Regions from separate parts of the Homo sapiens genome. Here all the other regions are linked to region 3. The links are contacts of gene promoters, found by promoter capture Hi-C in blood cells and fetal thymus (Javierre and others, 2016). All regions are on one chromosome and are shown on one strand. The core of a region is centred on a gene start or on the middle of the fragment in contact, and the rest is flanking DNA. Distances in the headings are between cores, read along the strand shown. Region 1 holds the start of HNRNPLL (heterogeneous nuclear ribonucleoprotein L like). Region 2 has its middle 6.8 kb from the start of ATL2. Region 3 holds the start of STRN (striatin).

What was found. Contacts are between HindIII fragments. The CHiCAGO score rates a contact against its expected background, and 5 or more counts as called.
Region 1: a contact is called between the fragment with the promoter of HNRNPLL here and the fragment with the promoter of STRN in region 3, in 1 of 17 cell types (neutrophils). The highest score is 5.7, in neutrophils.
Region 2: a fragment that was not itself captured here is called in contact with the fragment with the promoter of STRN in region 3 in 1 of 17 cell types (monocytes); the score reaches 5.6 in monocytes.

The regions. Positions count from the first base shown.
Region 1 is chr2:38,600,204-38,604,503 of GRCh38, forward strand. It overlaps HNRNPLL (heterogeneous nuclear ribonucleoprotein L like), which reads right to left and starts at 2,725. Exons shown (of 13, transcript NM_138394.4): 1 at 2,235-2,725. The coding sequence starts at 2,423. RefSeq lists silencers at 2,445-2,544, 2,565-2,614, 2,835-2,904. The HindIII fragment of the contact is 8,602 bases long and covers 1-4,300 here.
Region 2 is chr2:38,381,733-38,386,371 of GRCh38, forward strand. No RefSeq gene overlaps it. Among named protein-coding and RNA genes, the nearest start is that of ATL2, 6.8 kb to the left of the region's middle. The HindIII fragment of the contact is 471 bases long and covers 2,729-3,199 here.
Region 3 is chr2:36,963,466-36,967,863 of GRCh38, forward strand. It overlaps STRN (striatin), which reads right to left and starts at 3,071. Exons shown (of 18, transcript NM_003162.4): 1 at 2,765-3,071. The coding sequence starts at 2,998. RefSeq lists a silencer at 2,752-3,561. The HindIII fragment of the contact is 8,803 bases long and covers 1,389-4,398 here.

The DNA.
Region 1 (4,300 bases), core at 1,475-3,974, 1.6 Mb after region 3:
AATTCACCCTTTCCTAGGAAACATATCAGCAGTAAGATAAACAAAAAAATTAAAATTTATACCTCAATCTGCTTATATCAGTTCCCGCCGGGGTAACTTAAAAGCAGCATTAGCATTACGTTAATCACTTAACTATAGCTTCGGTTAAAAAAGGCATGTGTTTCAACCTTCATATTTTACAGACTAAGAGAACTCAGAGTAGTAAACTGACTTTCTCAGACTCACACAAATTGTATGCTAAGACCAGGTGCGGTGGCTCACGGCTGTAATCCCAGCACTTTGGGAGGCCAACTCAGGTGGATCTCTTGAGCCCAGGAGTTAAGAGACTAGCTTTGGCAATATGGTGAAACCCCTTCTCTACAAAACACAGAAAAAAAAAATTGGCCCGGCGTGGTGATGCAGGCTTCCAGTCCCAGCAACCCGGGAGGCTGAGGTAGGAGGATCGCTTGAGACAGGGAGATCAAGGCTGCAGTGAGCCGTGATCACGAGCTGCTGCACTCCAGAGCTGCTGCACTCCAGCCCCGGGCCATAGAGTGAGATCCTCTCAAAAAAAAAAAAAAATTGTATGCTAAGCCTAGACTCTTGACCACCCCCAAGCCCTACTCAGTGCCATTTCCACCGCTCCACACATTTCGCTTTGGATACATTAATTATATGTTATTTTCTTCCCAACATCCAAAATAATACTATTGATTTAATGCTTTATCTGTTTTCAAAAACAAATTTTTATAATCTGATTTAAGTATCTTTCCAAAATGCCTGAAGACATTTCATGATGCTGCACAAAAACCCAAGCAAGATTTCTAGCAACGAGGTACACTGATCGAATACATCGAAATATCAGTTATAATATTCCTGTTTCCAATTTCCACAACAGAGTTGGCTTTGAACTGAAACTTCCTAAGAAAAAACCATTTCCTTTATTCACACTTCCAAGTTACATTTTGAATATTTCAAATAGCTCGGCACAAAAATCTAAAGTAATAGCTAACACCGTAACAAGACTGAGAGAAAAAGTTCCTTTTTTAAATGTGTTGCAAAGTTTGCTCTCACATCCTGGTAACTGGAAACTGCAACGCTGGGTGACTGACCAGCCTTTTTTTTTATTATTTAAAAATTCAAACGGCTATAAAGGGCTTCTAATGTGCGTCTTATTTTTAAAAGGTAAGGTAAAAACCCTTTTAACCTAATAGTAGGATATATGTGTACAGTTTCGTAATTCTGTTAAAGTTTGCAGAATTAATCACAATTCATGTGTTAAATGTTTAAATAACATCTAAGTCATTAAAACCGCTTAAGTGCACCAAAAAAGGGCAATAACGTTTGCTCCGCTTTGTTTCCTTAAAGTCTCCATCCAACTGAAGCTAACTACTTGCTGTGGACAAAATGATCACATTCCTTCTGCCTCCCCCTAACATTTCTGGTAAGAGAAAGACCTGGCTCTAGGAATGTGTGTTTAATGCAACCCTGAGCTCACTTCATCCTTTCATGGGGCAAATGTGGAATAAATTACCAATGAAAAACTTTAGTAATTTTAAGATTTGTTTTACTTGAAGGTAGGGGTGTACCAACAGCTGCCAACACTTCTGTTGAAGTGTTGTAACCGAAGAGGTAAAAAGTGTACTGAGTAATCCACAAAATTGGGTAGAGCAAAGGATGCACGCCATGCTTATAAAGAGTTTAATTTTAAAATTTTTTAAATTAAACCTTCAAGGGAACTAGCATGTGAACGCCAAGGCATAATCTGTTATTTAATTACGGGTCTCCATAGGACCGAGGCGGAGAGAGCTCCCGGTAGAACCGACGCAACCATCCCGGGATGGTGACCAACGCGCGGCTGCTGCGGGCAGAGGGACTGAAGAGAACCGGTGGTCCCGACGCTGGCCCCGAGCCCGAGGAGTTAAACTAACAAAGAGCTCCCCGAGCCGCGAAACCCCCCAGAGCGGAAGCGACGCCTCCCCGCCGCCGCCGCCGCGCCGCGACCCTCCCCAAGTTCAGGGCCCGGCAGTGGACTCGCTGCGGGGCCTGCGGCCAGGACGGCGCCGGGTTCGCAGTCGGGATGCGGGAAACAGGTAGAGGCCAGAATACGAGCCCCAAAGAGAAGAGTGGGCGCTTCCCCAAACGGGTCGGCGCAGCGGAAAAGGCTAACTGAAGCAAGCGGGAGGCCCCGCACCGAGGCCCTGCTTCCCGGGGAGCAGCCAGGCACAGCGGACAGGGGGGCCGCGCTTTGTTACCGGCTGAGAGAAGCTCCGGCCGCCGCCGCCGCCATCGCCCCCGCCCCGGGGCGTCGCTTCCCGGCGGTTCTCGCCTTCCTCGGCCGAGTAGTCGATCTCCCCCTCCTCGGTCTTGAGACGCTTGGCCTGGCTCTCGTACTCCCGGTCCTCCTCGTACGTCTCCCTGGGGGAGGAAGAGGAGGAGGACATGGCGGCGGCCGGAGGGACCGGCTGGCAGGCGGGTGGGGGTGGCGGTGGGGCGCGCGCCTCGGATGCCGCCGGCCAGTCCTCGCCGCCGGCAGCGCCTCTTCTGCGAGGGTCTCCGCGGCCCGGCCGTCCGCGGGGACTGCGCGGCCAGGAGACTGGCGGCTGAGAAGCGCGGACGGACTGAGGGGGGCGCCCCGGGAGGAAGCTCTGGAGCGGCCGCTCCTCTCAATTACCGAGCCAACATTCAGCCTCTCCCTCCTCCTCCTCCGTCTCCGCTCCCTGCCCGGAGGAGCGAATCTAAGGATGGGGACGCAACCGTGGCTTCCGGTCTTCCCTCCTCCCCTAAGCCGCTCCCAGCCGCGCAGGCCGAGCCTCCGCCCCCGCCTTCGCGGCCGTCGCGCAGGATCGAATCCAGCCGCAGCCTGCGGGAAGCGCCCCCCCCGGCCCGGGTTCTGCTCCCTATTGGCAGGGGCGGGAAAGTCGACCGGGCTTCCCATTGGCTGTGAGGGCCGTTCGTCAAAAGCCGCCCGCTGCTCGACCTCACTTCTCTCCCCGCGCCTTCTGAACTCGCCGCGGTCCTGGGAGGCCCGGCGCGCAAGGCGCGCCGCCTGGGAGTAGTTGCGACCCGCAACCGTTGGCGCTATGCGGCTCCTACCCGAGGCCAGGCGTGGAGTGAACACGGACGAGCGACGAGAAGTGCGGAGAGGCTAGGGCTGCGGGTGTTAACCGCCCTGCCGCTAATTTAAATGCTTTTTATCACCTCTTAAAAAGAGAATGAGGAAAAAAACCTCTAAAATCCCTGCAGTCATACCCCCCGAAAAGCCCTAAAATTGCAGGCGATGAAGGGAGAAAACGGCTTGGAGCCATGAGAATGGTCTTTCCACTGTTTTGTGTGCAAAATCTGGTAGAAGTGGGCGGACCCTCCCGCCCCTAGCTGGGTGTTGGAGAACAGCTGTCAGCATTGACTGAAGGCTGCGAGGCGCGCGTCGGCAGGAGGCGCTGCACGCGGGCGCTCGTCGGTCTGATCGGTTATAACTCGTTTGTAACCTGGGCCCTTTACTGACTTGCCTGTCCCTGTAAGTCCCTGCTCCAGTTAAATATGTTTTAATCCTTCCATATAAAATCTCATCCTCCATCCCAATTCTTTCTCTTCTGGACAATGTATTTACTTCACTTGATCATTTATTGTCGAAAGATACAAAAGCCTTTCAAAGTTCTGTGATCACAGCTTGCTTCCTCTGTGGTGTCCTGAGGGCTTTTCCAAGATTTTAGTTGCTGCTCTCTTTTTGCAACAGGGCCCCTTATAACTCCCTCTTAAGATGTTCTGTTTTAAAAACTCTGTGAGCGCCTGAAGACAGGAACTGTGTGCAATTTTCATTTTCGCAAGCCCAGTTCCTGTGCGATCTCCAGCACAATTTAGGTGCTCAACAATGCTGAATGAGTAGTCCTTGGGAAATAAAGGTCCAGTGTATCTTTCAGGACAGAAACTGGCAAATCAAGGCAACCTAACTGCCCTCTGTCAGGTGCCTCTTGGAGGACTGCCTGAGATCAAGAGCCTCTTGTGTTTCTGTTGTCCTTGTCCCTCGGATGCTTTCCTAGATGTGGCTCTTCCTTTCCTAAGAGTGTAGATTGCTTCCTCCTCCAGCCTAGTTCTCTCCAAAGTTATTTCCTCCTCCAAAAAAGCTATTTTTATTTATTGCTGAGAGTGCTTTAACATAACACTTTTGTACTTTGTAAATTACACCGGCTGTCATTTTGGAATCTAATTGCAAGATTTTCCACACTATGCAGCTATAATCAAATGTGTGTGCGGCTGCAGGTATACATTGACAAAACAGAACTAAAAAAATTATAAATTTATTTTTTAAATTAAAATGGAA
Region 2 (4,639 bases), core at 1,714-4,213, 1.4 Mb after region 3:
TGATTCTTCCCAGCTGAATTCCTCTGCAGAGGCAATGACTTAAACTGGGATACATGAGTATCAGTAGGGCTTAGTGGAAAGAACAGCAGCTTTGAGTTCGCACCCCAGCTCTATCTACCTCTTGGTTTTATGACCAAGATCATTAACCTCTCTGACCTTCAGTTTCCTCTGCTGTAAAGTAAAGGTCTCTTCCTTGCATGTTTCATTATGATCATAGATCACGTAGATAAAGTATTTAGCCTAGTGCTGGCACATGGCAATAAATGATAGCCATCATGATTAATGCTCCAATAAAACAGCTCTTTTAAGTCTAAGAAGGGATTAAAGAGCAAGAATACCATTAGTAATAATACCTGTTCATAATTTCATTTAATCTACAAAATACTTTGATGAGGCAAGGATTATTGACATCATCCTCACCATCAGCATTCTACAGAAACGGGGACTTTAAAATGTTACTTAATTTCTTCAAGGCCATATGACTACTAAATTGAAGAGCTAAAATTTGAACCCCCAAATTCTGTCTGTTCTGAGAGCCCATGTTCTATTTTTTTTTTTTTTTTTTTTTTGAGACCGAGTAGCTGGGACTACAGGCGCATGCCACCACACCCAGCTAATTTTTTGTATTTTTAGAAGAGATGGGGTTTCACCATGTTGCCAGGGTGGTCTCGATTTCCTGACCTTGTGATCCGCCTGCCTCGGCCTCCCAAAGTGCTGGGATTATAGGCATGAGCCACCACCACTGGCGAGAGCCCATGTTCTTTTTTTTTTTTTTTTTAAAGACGGGGTCTCAGGCTGGGCGCGGTGGCTCATGTCTGTAATCCCAGCACTTTGGGAGGCCGAGGCAGGCACATCACAAGGTCAGGAAATCGAGACCACCCTGGCTAACATGGTGAAACCCCGTCTCTACTAAAAATACAAAAAATTAGCTGGGCATGGTGGCACGTGCCTGTAGTCCCAGTTACTTGGGAGGCTGAGGCAGGAGAATCACTTGAACCTGGGAGGCAGAGGTTGCTGTGAGCCAAGATTGCACCACTGCACTCCAGCCTGGTGACAGTGTGAGACTCCATATCAAAAAAAAAAAAGACAGGGTCTCACTCTTGACACCCAGGCTGGGGTGCAATGGCACGATCTCGGCTCACTGCAACCTCCACCTCCTGGGTTCAAGCGATTGCCCTGCCTCAGCGTTCCCAAGTAGCTGGGATTACAGGTGCGCGCCACCACGCCCGGCTACTTTTTGTATTTTCAATAGAGATGGGGTTTCACCATGTTGGTCAGGCTGGAGCCCATGTTCTTAACCGTGTATCTTCAGATAACACACTGGCATTGTGGCTAGGCACTGAAAACTCTACAATCACCTTCTACAGACAACTAAATAGCTAGAAGCATAGCTTCTGGATGTCCAGAAGACTGTTTTGAATAGCTGGAGAGGATGAGGTGCAGATTTAGGGCACCCATGATCAAGATAACTGGCACTGTCCTAGATGCAACTGGTAGCTCCTACTTGAACGACTGACTACTATAGAGTTCATAGGTGTCTTGCAGTTACTAAAATGATTTAGTAGCAGGAGGAACAAAAGTTCAAATCCAGAAACTGGACTTGTTTATGTTTGGAAAAATAGATAGATACTGGTTTTTTAATTACAATTCGCATACAAAAGAACACTGGCAGGAACTCTAGGCACAATATAATATCCTATAGTACATTTTCAAAAATAAAAATGAAGGAGTGGCCAGGCGCAGTGGCTCACGCCTGTAATCCCAGCACTTTAGGAGGCCGAGGCGGGCGGATCGCCTGAGGTTGGGAGTTTGAGACGGGCCTGACCAACATGGAGAAACTCCATCTCTACTAAAAATACAAAATTAGCTGGGCGTGGTGGCGCATGTCTGTAATTCCAGCTACTCGGGAGGCTGAGGCAGAAGAATCGCTTGAACCCAGGAGGCGGAGGTTGCAGAGAGCCGAGATCGTGCCATGGCACTCCAGCCTGGGCAACAAGAGCTAAACTCAGTCTCAAAAAATAAGTAAATAAAAACAAAACAAAAAAAGGAGTGAAAGTAAACACCATTACGCAGAAAACATGCTTGTAGCTTGAAGCGAACATGGCCGTGTGCTTTAGGCTCCTCTGAAAACGGGGTGGTGAATGGTATCCTCTTTGAACAGCCTGTCTGGACCGCGCCTAATGTGTTTCTCATAACTGGCCTGCCCTCAGGAATGCCTTTGAAATCAGTGGGAAATCCAGACTGCATAGAAGGAACTGTATATCTTGGCCTCTTTTAAGATTAAGACAATATCTACATAGGCCTTATTACAGCCAACATACTGTTCTTGTAACTGGAGAGCAGCCAAATCTTTCTTTCCAACTCACACTCAAGCTAAATTCCTAACTTCTAAAAACTGGCTGGCTGGTTGGTAGGAAGAAACACTGCACCTTGACAATGTCCTTAGAGTCACTGTCCATGTTGTAACCTATTTAATTCTTGGATTCACGGCCACTAGAGTCATTTCGTTATTATACTTTGATGGTGAAATCTGTACTCACCTCAAACACTTCCTCCTAGACTCACACCATTTCTCCCCTTCCCAAATATTCTTGGGGTCTGTCTTCAATTATAAATGCTCAGAATACGAGTTCCATCTTTTCATTTTCCCCACAGTTCTTTGCTCAGACTCAAATATTGCATGTAATGCCACTGCCACTTGGTCGGCCTGGCAAATATTTATCTTTCAAGCTTATCCTGATCACCCTCCAAGAAGGCGAGCTATAGTAAGACATAATAAAATGACTGTTGTTTTAAGACATTTTGTTTTGTAACTGGAGAGCAGCCAAATATTTCCTTTCATCTCTGTAATTTGCTATAGAGCAACTGGTAACCAGAACACATACCCTTGGTGTCATACCAATATATAAACATATATATGTGGTAAATGCATAAGCAAATACAGAGCAATAATAAACTCTGAATTCAGATAGTGCTAATCACTCTCTGTTAAAGTTACTTGTTTGCTTCTGCTGTCTAAAGCAGTGGCTCTTAATTTTTTCACATTGTTTTGTTTTACAGTGATACAAATGACAAATGGCACTCACCAACAGGACATGTTCCATAGGTGTGCCCCAATATCCATTGGTGGCCACTGTAAATGAGACTATGCGCCATGTAGCTCCCATCAGGAACAGATTTAGTATTTTGGGGGTCCTGAAGCTTCTACAAGTTTGAGAAATTTCTTTAAGAAAACAAATTGTGAGGCTAGGCTTATGCCTGTAATCCCAGCACTTTGGGAGGCTGAGGCAGGTGGATCACTTGAGTTCCAGACCAAACCAGGCAACATGGCAAAACCCCATCCCTACAAAAAAATACAAAAAATTAGCCATGTGTGGTGGTGCCCACCTGTATTCCCAGCTACTTGGGAGGCTGAGGTGAGAGGATCACTTGAGCCCAGGAAGTTGAGGCTGCAGTGAGTCGACATTGCACCACTGCACCCCAGCCTCGGCAATGTGAGTGAGACCCTGTCTTGAAAAAAAAAAACAAAAAAACCCCCACAAAAAACAAATTGTGAATTAAAACAAATTATATAAGTAAATGCATATTTAGCATAAGAAAAGAAATCCCCTCAAAATACCAAATTTTATCTAATACATACTACAATACAGAAAAATAATTTTTTTATTTATTAACTTCATAGCATACCTTTCTAATACCACATTTTCTTTCTTTTTTTTTTTTTTGTTTGAGACAGAGTCTTCTCAGCTCTTTTGCCCAGGCTGCAGTACAGTGGTGTGATCTCAGCTCACTGCAACCTCTCCCTTCCAGGTTCAAGTGATTCTCCTGCCTCAGCCTCCCACATAGCTGAGATTACAGGTGTGCACCACCATGCCCGGCTCATTTTTGTATTTTTAGTAGAGACAGGGTTTCACCATGTTGGCCAGGCTGCTCTCGAACTCCTGACCTCAAGTGATCCGCCCACCTCGGCCTCCCAAAGTGCTGGGATTATAAGCATGAGCCAACTCGCCCAGCCTAAACCATTTTTTCTGATCTTTTCACTGTATGGTCTTTGACTCTTCATATTATGCCAATTTGGGGATATCATTTTCTGAAGAGAGAATAGAAAGGCAATTCAGTTTTTCCTGTAGTGTAGTGAATAAAGTTTTTATTTGTCTGTGACTTAGAAAATTCTCTTTCAGTCTGGGTGTGATGGCTCATGCTTGTAAATCCCAGCACTTTGGGAGGCCAAGGCGGGCTAATTGCTTGAGCCCAGGAGTTCAAGACCAGCCTGGGCAACATAGAGAAACCCCATCTCTCCAAAAAAAACACAAAAATTAGCCAGGTGCGATGGTGTGCACCTGTAGTCCCTGCTACTCGGGAGGCTGAGGTGGAAGAATTACTTGAGCCAGGGAGGTTGAGGTTGCTGTGAGGCATGATCATGCCACTGCACTCCGGCATGGGTGACACAATGAGACCCTATCTCAAAAAAGAAGAAAGAAAGAAAGAAAGAAAGAAAGAAAAGAAAGAAAGAAAGAAAGAAAGGAAAGAAAGAAAGAAAGAAAGAAAGAAAGAAAGAAAGAAAGAAAGAAAGAAAGAAAGAGGGAGGGAGGGAGGGAGGGAGGGAGGGAGGGAGGGAAGGAAGGAAGGAAGGAAGGAA
Region 3 (4,398 bases), core at 1,821-4,320:
AATAAAGAAGATTCAAATGTAACGATGGTAATAATTTTTTTTCCAATTACACTAATAAGGGGGGACAAAGACCAGAGATTACTGCAAACTCTTCCCCCCAAAATATATCATATTCATCCTGTTAGGAAAATGACACATTTTTAAAGTTTCTCTGTGGAAACTTTAATTGGAACACAAAACAGAAAATGCTGTCAAAAAAGTAGTGTCCTTGGCCGGGCACAGTGGCTCACGCCTGTAATACCAGCACTTTGGGAGGCTGAGGCAGGCAGATCACTGAGGTCAGTAGTTCAAGACCAACCTGGCCAACATTGTGAAACCCCGTCTCTACCAAAAATACAAAAATAAGCCAGGCATGGTGGTGCATGACTGTAATCCCAGCTACTTGGGAGGCTGAGGCAGAAGGATTGCTTAAACTTGGGAGGCTGAGGCAGAAGGATTGCTTAAACCTGGGAGGCGGAGGTTGCAGTGAGCTAAGACTGCACCACTGCACACCGGCCTGGGCAACAGAGCGAGACCCTCTCTCCAATAAAAGGAAAAAAAAAAAGGAGTCTCTTTAATATGATAAGCACCCATGGGAAAGCTACCTGAAGTTAATAAACATTTGCCACAAACAACCCAGGAAGGGGTGTTTGGAGATGTGTGCATAAAAACTGAAGATCAACTACAGTTACCAGTAAATTGAAAAGTTTAAACGAGGAGAGGGAGTGAACGGGGCGGGGCGGGGGGAAGGATGGGTTGGAATTCCCCAACTTCTACAGGTAGAAAGGTAAGCATTGTTTTCTGGTGTGTGTGTGTGTTTTGTTTTTGTTTTTTTTTTTTTAACCAAATTAGTGTGAGTTATCTATATTCCCAAAACTGGAAAAGAAATTAAATTTTAAGTAACTAATACAAAAATCATTCCCCACAACTGCACAACATTAAAGTTAAACTTTGCCTTTAACATTTCCTTGAATCCTGAAATCCACACCTTTTATAGAATGCGCTGCTAATAAAGATCAATCTGTAAGTATTCAAATTTGTTGGAGACTATATAAACAAGGTCAAAGAAGACTTGCAAATATCAGATAGACTAGATCGACTAAATACTACAGCAATATAACAATAGGAATGAAAAAGTTGCCAAATAATATAAACATGTAACTACAGACTTACAAGGAAATCATAGAAACTACTGGTCACTCCCTAACTTCATTCAGCTGCTCATTTGTCATCTCTCAGAGGCCTACCCTGACTACCCCATCTAAAATAGCTGCCCCTATCACACGCTATTCCTGAACTCTGACTTATTTCTTCCTCACAGCAGTTGCCACTATAAGCCATTATATTCTATAGGCGCATTTGCTGGACTGTTTGCCTCTCCACTAAAACATAAACTCCATGAGGGCAGAAGCTTGGTCGGTTTTCTTTCAACACAGGGCCTAGACACACAGCTGGCACTCAATACACAGGTGCTGAATAAAATACATGATAAAACTGAAACCCAGAGAGGTTAAAGGATTTCCTCAAGGTCACAGAGCTAGCAACAAACACAGCCCTTACTATAACCTTGTCTACTACAGCCTTGTGTGTTCGCTCTTTCCACAGCCACTTCCACTACACCAGAGCCTGTTCCAGCACATGATTCTATTTAACAGATTTCTCCTCTTCTTTTTTTTCTTAAGCGCCAAATACATGTTACCAAAAAAAGTGACACACTGGGTAGCATTTTAAACTCAAGTGTTTTGCCAACTAAAACTATACTCAAATTTCATAAGTATACAGGCTTAGCCCGTAAAACAGAAAGGCACAACTATTCATAGTTCTTTAAGTTCCTTTTGAAATTGGTGTGTATGCCCTGGAAGTTTTAAGAACAACCACTGAAAACCTATTCACCAATTCTGAATGGCTTGTAAAGTATCAGCCTCACTTTCATTCTTTTCAGAGCCCACAGTTATCTCCTCCCTGGATATACTTTATCTTGCAGATTATGCAAGGCAATGTAACTAACTTCAAAGTCCCTTTAGTTCCTTTTAAAGCACAAGAAAATCTCCCAAAACACTGAACATAAAATTAACCCTTGGGAAGTTTCAGATTCTGAGAACAGGAACCACCTCTTAACCATTCTCTCTGACTGCGATCATCTAGGTCCTTCATTCAAAATGCATTAATTGGAAATACCTAAAAGAAACGTGGGAGGGGGCCGGGGGGTCGGAAGAAAGTGGAGAACAGACATTTACATATATAAAAAAAGGGATCTGATATATGAATAACACTTTTGCCCAACGTCAACTTCTCGCCTCGACTCAAGGCCTGACACAACTTCTGTTGTCTTCTTGATCACCTTCCTTGAAGAGAGGGGCCAAAGCCGGCACGTTCTGCGGAGACTGTCTCTAGACCTAGGAAGGGGCACACCAGGGCAGCGGACGATTTGCTCCGCGTCTCTCAAAACTACTGCCAGCCCAATTAGTAAACCGAGAGGGCAGCCCTGAGATGCAGGATGGCCAGAGAGTTGAAATGAGTCTGGGAGTTAAGAGTGGGATGGGGCGGACGAACAGGCGTGGGGAGGGTAAACAACGCACCAGGAGCGGGAGTGAGAACAGGGTCGAGGTGGGGTCAGCGAAAGGCAAAAGGCGAAGAGAAGAAGGGGACGGGGCTCCGGGTGGGATGGGCGGCAGCAAAGGGGGAGGGGACGCGAGAAGGCTGGGGGAGGGGGAGAAGGGTCCGGGGCGGGGCGGAAGGGAGCAAAGAGGCGGGATGAAGACGGCCAGGCCGGGAGGGTCTTTACCTGCAGCTCCGCCCGCTCCACCTCCCACTGGGCTCTCTCCACCTCGAAGCGGGCCCACTCGTGCTGCAGGAAGTGCAGGATCCCCGGGAGACTGTACTGGGCTCGGGCCGCCCCCGCCGCAGCCGCCCCGTCGCCGGCCGCGGCAGCCTCCGCCAGAGGCCCGAGCCCCTTGGCACCGCCGGCGCCCGGGTGGTTGTTGCTGAAGAAGACGCCGGGACCCGCCTGCTCGTCCATGGCGGCCGCAGATACCCGGGGAGCTGCCCCGGCGCCCAGCAGCGGAGGCAACAGCGGCGGCAAGCAGCGCCTCCTCCTCCCTCCGCCGCTCCCGCCCACACCCCAGTCAGCAGGGAGCAGCCTCCTGGGCGCGGGGGCCGGCCGAGCCCGTGACGGGCCGGGAAATGGGTCAACTGCGGCGCGCTGGCGGCCCGGGGCTTGCCGGGAAATGTAGTCGCGGGGCGGGGCGCGGGCTAGCGCGGCCCGGGCGGCCTGTAGGGCTGTGCCTCAGCTTGGGCGTGGCCTCGGGCCCGCCCCGCCCCGGCTCGCCGCGTAGGGGGCCGGCTGGGCGGGGAGAGCGGGTTTCCTCTGGGGCCGGCTGGGCGCGGGCGGGCGGGTCTCCAGTCTTCCTCGCACGCGGAAGTTCGCGGGCGGCGCACCCTGTTGCATTCAAAAACACACACACACACACACACACACACACACGGAAGTTGTCACGCCAAGATACCTGCCCGAGCTGCACATCTTTTAAGGCTTCCTGGCCGTTCTGTGAAGGAACAGGCTCAAAGCGAGCTACCCGGTGCGGCCGCGGGACCGGGGTTCTCCCGCCAGCTGCCCTGCGTGCTCTCGCTTCGGCTTCGTGTTCGGAGTTTCTCTCACCCTAGACGCTCCTCCATTCTGCCAATCTGCGGGTCGCTGTCGCTCTTGCCTTTCTCTTTTGACTCGAGGGGCTCAAACCTGTTACCTGACCAGTTTTCATTTCTAAGGAACGCCGATCACCTTTCTAAGACAACGCCGCAGCTTTCTGCTGCTGCTTCCAAATTGTGGTTTGTTGACAGCCCATCTGAAAAACTGCTCCGTTGAAGTTTCTTTCCCTTTGCAGTCCTCCTGCAGTAAATCCTGTAAAAGTTTTAGCATCCAATAATAGATGTTCTGTTATTTCGGTCTCATTTTTCCTATCTTATTCCCGCTGATTTTTACTCTACTTAATTGAACAAATATTTTGATTATCGGTTTTCTCTTGCGCTGGGAATATTAAGATAAATGACATCGTTTCTGTCATCAAAGATTGGCGTATAATCAAATATCACAAAGGCTTAATTTAAAAGCTACACCACCTTGAAAAAGCAAGTTCCCTTTCTGCTCCCTAGCGCGGTCTTAGATATCCTGGCCCCTCTCCGTTTTCACTTGTCCTGTTCCCAGTTTCTTTCACGATTCACCTGCCAACTGGCAACAGCATCCGCCTACCAAAGGTACACCAAAGTCCTTTCAAGTTACTCTCTGTAAATATTTGCCTTCTCCGAAGTCTGACAATATGTCACTATAAATTCACACTACAACAGTGGCAAAAAGGAAGGCCCCTGAAAACAATTTAACAAATGCAAATGAAATTAAGCACTTATTTTGTCACCCTAACAAGT